Regions from separate parts of the Homo sapiens genome. Here all the other regions are linked to region 1. The links are contacts of gene promoters, found by promoter capture Hi-C in blood cells and fetal thymus (Javierre and others, 2016). All regions are on one chromosome and are shown on one strand. Each heading gives the region's core, a stretch centred on a gene start or on the middle of the fragment in contact. The rest is flanking DNA. Distances are from core to core; before and after follow the strand shown.

Region 1 (3,517 bases), core at 554-3,053:
ACTGGACTTGAAATTCAATTATTTTTGCTTTTGCATTCTTTCGTGATGCATTTTTATAATCCTTCCTGAGAAGTAAATCTGTATGGATTTATTCATTTAGAAGAATATCCATTTAGTAGAAAATTTAAAATTTACGGCCTCCTTTTTGCCTGACCGATTAGAAGGCAAACATTTCTTTCTTTCTTTCTTTTTTTGAGATAGAGTCTTGCTCTGTCACCCAGGCTGGAGTGCAGCGGCACAATCTCGGCTCACTGCAGCGTCCGTCTCCGGGTTTCAAGCGATTCTCCTGCCTTAGCCTCTGAGTAGCCATGATTACAGGCACATGCCGCCATGCTCGGCTAATTTTTGTATTTTTAGTAGAGATGGATATTCACCACGCTGGCCAGCCTGGCCTCGAACTCCCGACCTCAGGTGATCCACCCCGCCTCGGCCTCCCAAAGTGCTGGGATCACAGGCTTGAGCCACTGCGCCGGCAGGGGGCAAACATTTCATGATTAATCTGACTGAAATACCATTTTTAGGTTCATCATTAGCTCGGACTACAACTCAGGCTGTGCTGTAACTTTGTGTCAACTCATTGATCCAACAGTGTGTCCTTCACATTTTTTCTTATGGCCACTGTTTTTTGTGTTACCAAAGGTGAAGGCATAGCCTTCCTCTCCTCATGTTCAGCATCTTCTGCGTTTCTCTGTTTATAAACAATGAGAAAAAGGGAAAATCTAGTATTTCTCTGACCCTGAAGAACACATATGGGATTCAGAGATTCAAAGTTAAAATGCAACATTAGGGTACATTATGTCACCAGGGACCGAAAAGAACACGGATAATAGATGCCAAAAAAATGTATTAAGTAATGTTAAAATTAATTTGTGTGAAGTTGACCAAGGCTTTTAAAACTAGACCTTTGTTTCCTTGATTCTTCTTCTGAATTTTCTGTTCTTTTGCTAGTCTCAATATTTTTTATCAGAGCGTCAGGGACAATCAGGACCTAAAAAACTCCACTTGGTGTAATAAGTAAACACATGTTGGGGCAAAGTATTGCTGAGTGTGTGTGTGTGTTTCTTATTTGGTATCAGAAACACCTTCCTTTCCTCAATAAACTTTTACATATTTCCAGACTTTTCTCTTAATTTTATGTAACCTTACAAAGATTTTTTACAGCTTTCTCTGCGTGCCAGTCAATTAATGTGTGTCACATGAACAAATAATACGGCTTGAATAAACTCAATCCTATTATTGCAGGTTGCGAAGTCACCTACTCCGTTTTTATGGCGATGCTGATTTGGGGCATTCTGCTCTTACAGGCTGATTCCCCGGTAAGGAAACGGTGTTTTTTCCCCATCCTACTATGAAAGATGCTATCTGAGGGGCAAAGGCGCATCTGCATTTCACGACTACCCACTAGGCTACGACAGCCTCAAGCATGGCTTATCTGGTAGTTCCGCGAAGGGCTCGCTGCCCTCCTGGAGCTATTGGAGTCACCTGTTCAAGGTCGCGAAACCACCGGTGCCGCCGGCAATCAGCGAGGTCCAGCGGGGCTGCGCGGTTTCCGGCCTGCCGGCGTTCGGCGTCGCCTCGGCCCCACCTGGTGCCCCGCAATCTGCGCAAAGGCTGGGAGACCGCGCCCTCTCCCGACCTACCACCAGCCCAAGCTGGGCCCGGAACTAACACCCGACAAGCGCTGGCGGCCAGCTGCAGCCGGGAAGGAGCACCGGAAGGAGGCGGTGGCGGGGCGGCCGAGGGCGGAGCGGGCCGGGGCGGGGCGCGGCCTACAAAAGCCACGCGCGGCGCGGTGGGCGGGCCTGGGCGCGAGCGGCTGAGTCGGCTGGGTCTCTGGCGCCGCAGAGGCCGCGGGCGAGGACCGGGAGGGGAGAGGGAGGAGACAGGAGGAGGAGACGCGAGTGCGGGGTGGCGCCGGTCCACCTCCGCAGCGCTCCTGCCTCCCCCAGGCTTTGGAAGGCGGGCCCGGGCTGCGGCAGCGGCGGCCTCGGCTGCCTGGGGAGGTGAAGTCGGGCTGCGGCGGCCTCGGTCGGCGCGGCGGAGGGAGGCGGCTGACCCGGCGAGGGTGGGCAGGTCTGGGCGGCCGGCGCCGCTGCGAGGTGGAGGGGCGGCTTGGCATCCCCGGGGCGGGGCGGGGCTCCCGAGGGCCGCGGTCGGTGCGTTTTCCGCAGGTCAGCCTCCCCCGGGGCCTTGCAGAAGCGGCTTCTGCGTACCCGGGGCGGCTGTGGGAAGGGTGGGGGTCGGTGCCTGCAGGGCTCTCCGTGGCCGCTCGGGAGAGGTGCTCTTCGCTCAGGCTCCCCCGGAGACTTGAGGGGGTGCGCGCTGGCGTGCATGGGGCCTGTTCTGTCCTTGGTTTGGGGATGCTCCTAAGGGGGGAGAAAGGGATACCTCGGGTGCTTGGAGGTCGAGAGACGGATACGTAAGTGCGCAAGGGCCACTGATTAGGGCACGGGAAGGGCTCGCTAGAATGAGCTCTTAAACTGGTTGGGTGTAAGCGGTTTTGGGCTAGTCTAAACCAAACAACTGAGAATAAACGCGGGGTTCCTGCAGGTTGAGAGAGTACCTGTCTGCAAATGTCCAGTAGTGATGGATTGCCTTGTAGGCCCCAGAGCAATCGGGGAAGTTAGCATTCTTGTTCAAGAAGCTGCTGGTTCACTTAGAGCTATAAAAGAATGTTGTGAGTTTGGATTTTCTTCCAAACGTTCAGGATTGAGGTTAGGGCTGGTGGTGAGGGATCATGTAAAGAGGTTTGAGTGGCTCAGCCTTAGGTCCCGGTGTGGAAAGCTTATTCTTTTGGTGTCATCACGTGGCCATGGGAATTATTTAGAATGTGATCTGCCCTCATGAGAAGAAAGGAGCTCTGAAGCCGTTGCAGTTCTTCCTCCCTATGTGGAAAATCGAATTTCTGGAAACATCCTCCGTATTGGGAGATTTTGCCTATGTAAAGGCTATCCTTATTGGCTAGCGGCACTAATTACTTTAAAAGTAGGATGGAAGTACAAGTATCTCAAGCATCATTGGGTTTCGAGCTCACTTCTGTGGAAAAGAGTTTAAGGGAGTGGTCTAGACTTTCCAGGGAAGTTATTGCCTGGCTGTGTCCCTCTAGTCCTAATTTTATACTTAACTTTCCCCCACCTCCTTCAGCCTCATCTGTTTCAATGGTGCAACTCTTTTCATCCCCTTTTGGTTACCAGTCACCTTCAGGCCATTCAGAGGAGGAAAGAGAGGGGAATATGAAGTCAGCCAAGCCCCAAGTGAACCACAGTCAGCATGGGGAAAGCCAGCGGGCCTTGAGCCCCCTGCAGTCTACTCTGAGTTCTGCTGCATCTCCTTCCCAAGCGTATGAGACCTATATTGAAAATGGACTCATATGCCTTAAACACAAAATTAGAAACATCGAGAAAAAGAAGGTAACTTTTTTTCTTCCAGTCCTGTAGATGCATGATCTTAAAGATTAAGGAGCTGACATTTTTCTTTCAGAGCTCATAGGTGTTCTCTACTAAAAATTTAACTAACC
Region 2 (3,517 bases), core at 359-2,858, 2.6 Mb after region 1:
GACTTTGAGCATAAATCTCTGGAATATTCACATTCCTTGTATAACAAGTATTCTTTCATCCTTGGACACTGGGTTTCTCATCTGTTGAACAAAATTGGCTTAAACCTGTAATCTCTGTTCTGTACTGGAAGTGGAAAATATTAGCAAGGCATCCTGACAAGTCTGCCATAAGTGCTGGCCTAAGTAGTTAATGAGCAGTTTCAGTATTGAGCAAGTCACCTTGACTACATTCTTTTTCCAGCCCACCCCCTTCTTTATGCATACAAAAAACATTTCTATTGTAAGAAATGTAATGCTTTCTTACACATATTTTTTTATCTGTCTACTAGACTACCAAGTCAAGGACCACTTCTCACTTGTATATCCAGCAATCTACTCACTTCTCATTTGTCTTTGTGTATCCAGCAGTCTAGCAAAGTGTCTAGTAGTTAGAAAAAAGGTATTCATAAATATTTCTTAAACTTAGTAAGGTTACCTTTATATTATTTTGTCTCTCATATCTCTTTCTGCTGGAAACCAGATTAGTTTCTGGGAGTTCCTTCCCATTGATGTACTTACATGTTCACTCTGTCCCGATATTCAATACTAAACTGTATTCCATACTAAACAGATTTATAATAAGTAACTAATATTTATTATTAATATTTGCTATGTGCCTGGCATTAGATTAAATATTTTAAATCCCATATATAACTTACCACAATAATTTTACAAAGTAGGTATATTAATATATTTACACTTTAGATGAGGTTACAGATTTAGGAAGTGTAAATTGACCAAGTGGATTTAAAGCCAGATCTGCCCAACAGAAGGGCTTGTTTATTCACTATAGCACATCACTTTGCTTTTTATATCACTTATTTATCAGTGAATTCAAATCCTACCAACTCCATGAAATCTTTCTTCCTTCCCCACAGTAATCTTTTTCTTTATAAACAATTCAGTGATTTTAGTATATTCACAGAGTTATGCATGCTTTACCACATTCGATTTTAGAGTATTTTCACAGCCCCAAAAAGAAACCCCATACCCTTTGGCCCCAACTTCTCCCTCCTCTCCCCAGCCCTAGGCAACCAGTAATCCACTTTCCGTCTGTATGCATTTGTCTATCTTGAACATTTCATATAAATGGAATCATGCAATGTGTGGTCTTTTGTGACTGGCTTCTTTCACTTAACATGTTTTCAAAGTCCCTTCATCGGTTGGGTTGTTTCAGCTTTTTGAATATTATGAATAATGCTCCTGTTGACATTCATGTACAAGTTTTCGTGTCAACATATGTTCTCATTTCTCTTGGATATATACCTAAGAGTGGAATTGCGGGGTCATATGGTAACTCTATGTTTAACCCCTTGTGGAACTACCACACTGTTTTCCAAAGTGGCTGTACCATTTTACTTTCTCACCAGCAATGTATGAGGGCTCTAATTTCTCTATTGTGCCTTTTCTTGTCTCTCTAGAACATGTGCCTCTCTTACTTTTCAGAATACTTTTTCCATGAGCCATCTTCAATTATTATTCTTTGTTGTACATGTATCTGCAAGCCCATTTTCCTAATAGTTTGTGACCTTCTGAGATGAAAAACATGGTGCCTGCCCTTAAGAGAATCACATCTAGAAAAATATACAATCAAATCAGATATTACAGTGATAATAAACACTGAAATAAAGGTTATTGCTAAAAGGTGGAGAAAGAACACCTCACTCAGCCTAGGTTAAACAGGAAGTACTTCTCATAGAATGTATCAAAGCTCAGGATTAGTCCTGAAGAATCTATTGGAATTGACCAAGCTAAGGAAAGACATGAGTATGCTCCAGAAAAAGGAACATATACCTTTGTATATATTTCCTTGTCTATGAACTGTGGAGGTAAGTATATTTTGCAGGTAAGCATACCATAGAAGCAAACATTGTGGTATGCAGGTATGCAGCAGGAGAAATGGGAAATGTAGATGTAAGATGATGAAGAGTTTTGTAAACTGTGTTAAGGAGTTTGAACTGTATCCTGAAGGTAATGGGAAATTGCTGAATTAGTTAAGCAAGGTTGGAGAAGAATTACTTCAGCAGCAGTATAGAGGAAGGATTATTGGGTAGGAGAGACGGGGCCAAGACTAGAAAAACAAACAAACCAGATAGAAGACATAAAATAACTAAAATGAGGAATTAATGACTGCCTGAGCCGAGATGGTACCCATGAAATTGGCAGAAAGGATTTTAAAGGCACATGGCCAACAAAAAAGGAGGAAAGAAGCCAGTCACGGTGGCTTATACGTGTAACCCCAGCAATGTGGGAGGCTGAGGTAGGAGGATCACTGGAGCCTGGGAGGTGGAGGCTGCAGTGAGCTGTGATTGTGCCACTGCATTCCAGCTGGATGACAGAGCAAGACCCTTTCAAAAAAAAAAAAAAAAGGAGGAGTAAGAAGAAGAAGAAAGAATTGAAGATATATTCCAGGTTTCTGGCTGTAGTCATCAAGAGGAAGATTGGGCACTTGGTGATAAGAATAATGAAACACTACAATGATGGTATCTTAGTTTGTTCAGGCTGCTATAGAAAAATACTGGGTAGCTTATGAATGCAAATTTATTTCTCACAGGTCTGGAGTCTAAGAAGTTCAAGATTAAGACACCAGCAGATTGGATGTCTAGTGGGGCCCTGCTTTCTGGGTCATAGATTGTGCCTTCTAGCTGTGTCCTCATGTGGTGGAAGAGACAGGGCGGCTCTCTGGAGCCTCTTTTATAAGGGCAGTAATCCTAGTCATGAGGCTTGTGTCCTCATGATTTAATCACCTCCCAAAGGCCCCACCTCCTAACGCTATCTCATTGGTGATTAAGTTTAACATATGAATTGTGGGGGGACAAAAACATTCAGACCACAGCAGATAGGTTGCAGGAATTTAAACTGCCATTGAAGTTTATGTGCTGTTGCAGTCACCCACAGAAATGAGATGAACCCTCACCCAAACTTTGGCTCCTATTTCAAGACTTAGCATACCACATATGCACCAACAGGGTATAAAAAGGTTTATTACTCACATAATGAGCCTTTCTAGGAAGAGTACAGCAGACCTCCTAAGCAGGTTTTAAAATGACTTGAGAGAGTAGGAGAAAAAGCTATTGGGATTTTTTTCATGGCTAGGACATGGCGCTTGGGTGAAAAAGCCCACACAGGGCAGGGACTGTATGGCTCAAATTTTCCACCAGCACCAAAATAGGAAATACCTATTTTGCACCATATTTGGATCTAGGCAAGCTTTCTCATCAAGTTGCCTAGATTCAGATATCATACAAAAGGGAACAGGTGAGGAGCCGGACTTAAAACTTGTTAAGAATCAAACATAAAAAATTATGTCAGACACAATTACATATTCTTAGATCTAGTTTAACTGCAACTAACAATATAGTTGTTACATATATATATGCTTTGAAAGTGATTATCATGGACACTGTAGTTGCAATCCCAACATTTATTCCACTCTTCCCACATTGTGCATAGTACACCTAAGAAATTGAGGTGAAAT
Region 3 (3,517 bases), core at 637-3,136, 2.0 Mb before region 1:
GAGTCTCACTTTGTCACCCAGGCTGGAGTGCAGAGGCATGATCTCTGCTCACTGCAACGTCCACCTCCCAGGTTCAAGGGATTCTCCTGCCTCAGCCTCTCAAGTAGCTGAGATTATGGGCGCCCATCACCATGCCCGGCTAATTATTTTTTGTATTTTAGTAGAGATAGGGTTTCACCATGTTGGCCAGGCTGGTCTCAAACTCCTGACCTCAAGTGATCCGCCATCTTGGCCTCCCAAAGTGCTGGGATTGCAGGCATGGGCCACTGTGCCTGGCCGATGAATACATTTTTAACCTCCTCCCTGGTGTGGTGGCTTAAATAATGAAGTTAAAGCTGAGAAACAATAAATGGGACTTTTGACTACTGTGATAGCAAACAGGCATTTCAGAATTGTAGAGGTGAATGAGATTTTAGAATTCATCTAATCCAGCCCATTTACTTTTTTTTTTCTTTTCTTTTCTTTTTTTTCTGAAATGGAGTCTTGCTCTGTCGCTCAGGCTGGAGTGCAGTGGCGAGATCTCAGCTTGCTGCAATCTCTGCCTCCCAGGTTCAAGTGATTCTCCTGCCTCAGCCTCCCAAGTAGCTGGGACTACAGGTGCCGGCCACCATGCCTGGCTAATTTTTTGTATTGTTAGTAGAGACAGGGTTTCACCGTGTTAGCCAGGATGGTCTCGATCTCCTGACCACGTCGTGATTTGCCTGCCTCGGCCTCCCAAAATGCTGGGATTACAGGCATGAGCCACCGCGCCAAGCCCAGCCCATTTACTTCTAAAATGAGGACACCAAGGCTAGTGTGTTAAATGACTTATCTAAGGAGGAACAGGTAGTCAAGGTTAAGCTGAGATAGCTACTCATGTCTGTGACTCCTAGTCCCATGGTCTTTGGACCACGACTCAGAAGCACATTTTGTTATGGTTGTGAGGATGAAGGAAGTAATATTTGACTTTTCTGCAAACATTATGTAAATACAAGGTATTTGTTCCCCTTATGATGTTACAGAACATTAATGAGTGAGATGTTTCCAGACTTATTTCTCATTTTGGTAACTAACCAGTCAGTGCTTATAACAGAAAAACATAAAGTCCGTATTGAAGACACTGAGAAAAAAAGACAAAAATAGTTTTAATCAAAATAGAATTGCTCTACAAAACATAGAATGATTGCTTATTGTTTTGTTTCTTCTCCAATGGAGATATAAATTCACTTGGCCTTGATGGAGGGACAATGATGAGTTGATTGATTCACTTCTACTCTGTCAGAGAGACCAGAAAATTACTAAGGTAACTTGATAAATAGGAAAATTCCAAAATGATCTTCACTGAAGACATTATCCATTTGATCTAAGCTTTTCAGATGCAATCACAATAGTGTCTCCAAGATCCTCTTTCTAAGAGGGAAGCCTGCTTTTCTCATCACATTAGCAAACAGCCAGGCGGATTCGTTGCTTGCCAGTCATGGCTGAATTACAGTCCCGACAACATGGCCTGGGAAAGAACATGCTGGTAGGGGACTGCGGCGGCTATCACCAAGCTCAGAGCAGAAGGGGTGGATGTTGGGGAAAGGGTTCTGCGAGGAGAAAAATTCACTGCAGCAGGAGTGAAGGGAGACACAATTACATATTGAAAGGGGAAAAGCTGTTTGAATTCTACTCTACACCTCAATCACCACCCTCCTACAAGGGATGTCTTTCCCTTGGTCATATTCTCAACAAATGTTTCTCTCCCACAGCCCCCTCCTAATCTGCATGTTCTTCAACAGCTACCTAGGAGTCACTCTCTCTCTGCTCCAAAAATTGGGCGTGGAAAAGGAGCCCAATCAGAAAGAGGAAATGAAGAAAGAGGAAGTGAAGAATAAAACTGCTCAGAGAAAAATAACTTCATAGAATAATATTATCTCCATGAGGACAGGAATCTTTCTTTCATCCATGAATATATCCTAAGCCATTAGAACAGTGCCTGACTGATCAAATAATTCTAATAAATATCTGTTAAATGAATAAGCAAACATCTATGTCCTTAACCCACTAGAATGGTAGGAAATTGTTTCTCCATCATTATTAGCCTCCTTCCCGCTTCTAGGGTTTTACCAAAATTTGATCAACGTGCCCCAGGAAATAATATCTCTAATTTCCAATTGGTTCTGATCATTCTAGCCATCCTTGTTGGCCAAGCCTTCAGTGGTTCTCTGAGACCTCCAGCTGGCACTCAGGGGCTCTCCTGCCTCAAATGAAGCAGAGGAACCTTAGGCAAAGCCAGGAGCCCCAGGCTGGAAGTGTAGCAGGAGGTCGTCCCTTTGAGGCCAGGGAGCAATGCACAGCTCCTCTGGCAAACCAGGGCCATAGCCAGGGCTCCCTTGCCCAGGTTTGGGGCAGGGGCACTCTCTTTAAGCTGGAGAATCCTACCTCTTTCTCTTCTCTAAGCTTATTTCCTTAAACTTCATCCTATCTTAGGCTTTTGACTTTTGGAAACAAAAGTTACAAAGAGTTCCAGGATGACTCTGTATTCCTCCCCGACTTGTACTTTCCCCAAGGCACTGACACACAGAACTTGCTACAAATGGACAGTTAAAATGAAGAGAGGAAAATGAAAGATTTTTTATTTCTTTGTTTTTTTGAGACGGAGTCTCACTCTGTCACCCAGGCTGGAGTGCAATGGCGTGGTCTCAGCTCACTGCAACCTCTGCCTTCCGGGTTCAAGCGACTCTCCCGCCTCAGCCTCCTGAGTAGATGGGACTACAGGCGTGTGCCACCACACCTGGCTAATTTTTGTATTTTTGGAAGAGACGGGTTTTCACTATGTTGGCCAGGCTGGTCTCGAACTCCTGACCTCGTGATCTGCCCACCTCGGCCTCCCAAAGTGCTGGGATTACAGGCGTGAGCCACCGCACCCGGCCTGGAAAATGAAAGATTTTTAAACCCATAAATATCTCAAAACATTATCCAGCCATATGGTATGGGACCAGGTGCATAAAGTTAAGGCAATGCTGAGACCTCCAGGTTATTCCACTGGCTACAACAGCAGCCTAAAAGAAAGAAAGAAAGAAACTTGGGGTATCCTTCTCTAAACTCTAATATAGAAAGGAAATGCATATCTAGTAACATGTTTCTTTGTCTAATTATCCTCCTACAATCAGCATCTTAAAATAAGCTAATCTCTTATAAAAAATTTTTGGATGTTAATATGACCATCAGCTCAAAAAGCATTAAAGCCACTTCAATCAAGGGACACAGACTAGGTTTCAAGACACTTAGCTCACATAAATTTCTATAAATTTTAATAGAACTTAATGGTCTTTCCATTTTTTTGTGTGGGAAGGGTAAGCATTATTGATTTTACATTTTAATACATTTTAGGGGCATGATGAACCTGGACAGTAAAAGCATCCTTCCTTCGCCCTACCTAATGCAGAGGAGCTTCCTGAAAGAAATTAGTTTGGAATGAAAGGGGAGCAACTGCCTTGCAGGTAAGGATGGGCAGAGTGGGAGGATCTTTAGGACTTTAGATGTAGGTTTCAAG

What was found. Contacts are between HindIII fragments. The CHiCAGO score rates a contact against its expected background, and 5 or more counts as called.
Region 2: a contact is called between a fragment that was not itself captured here and the fragment with the promoter of CAPRIN2 in region 1, in 2 of 17 cell types (naive B cells and naive CD4 T cells). The highest score is 5.3, in naive B cells.
Region 3: a contact is called between a fragment that was not itself captured here and the fragment with the promoter of CAPRIN2 in region 1, in 1 of 17 cell types (total B cells). The highest score is 5.5, in total B cells.

What each region holds. Positions count from the first base shown.
Region 1 is chr12:30,753,237-30,756,753 of GRCh38, reverse strand. CAPRIN2 (caprin family member 2) reads left to right here and starts at 1,803. Exons shown (of 19, transcript NM_001385503.1): 1 at 1,803-2,003; 2 at 3,195-3,410. The coding sequence starts at 3,234. It overlaps LOC645485 (a long non-coding RNA gene), which reads right to left and starts at 1,680. Exons shown (of 2, transcript NR_135046.1): 1 at 1,483-1,680. RefSeq lists silencers at 275-478, 1,570-2,249 and enhancers at 2,177-2,346, 2,350-2,429. The HindIII fragment of the contact is 2,894 bases long and covers 1-2,786 here.
Region 2 is chr12:28,185,959-28,189,475 of GRCh38, reverse strand. It overlaps LOC729291 (a long non-coding RNA gene), which reads left to right. Exons shown (of 1, transcript NR_148936.1): 1 at 1-3,517. Among named protein-coding and RNA genes, the nearest start is that of CCDC91, 2.7 kb to the left of the region's middle. The HindIII fragment of the contact is 3,286 bases long and covers 1-3,251 here.
Region 3 is chr12:32,760,204-32,763,720 of GRCh38, reverse strand. No RefSeq gene overlaps it. Among named protein-coding and RNA genes, the nearest start is that of YARS2, 6.1 kb to the right of the region's middle. The HindIII fragment of the contact is 1,074 bases long and covers 1,350-2,423 here.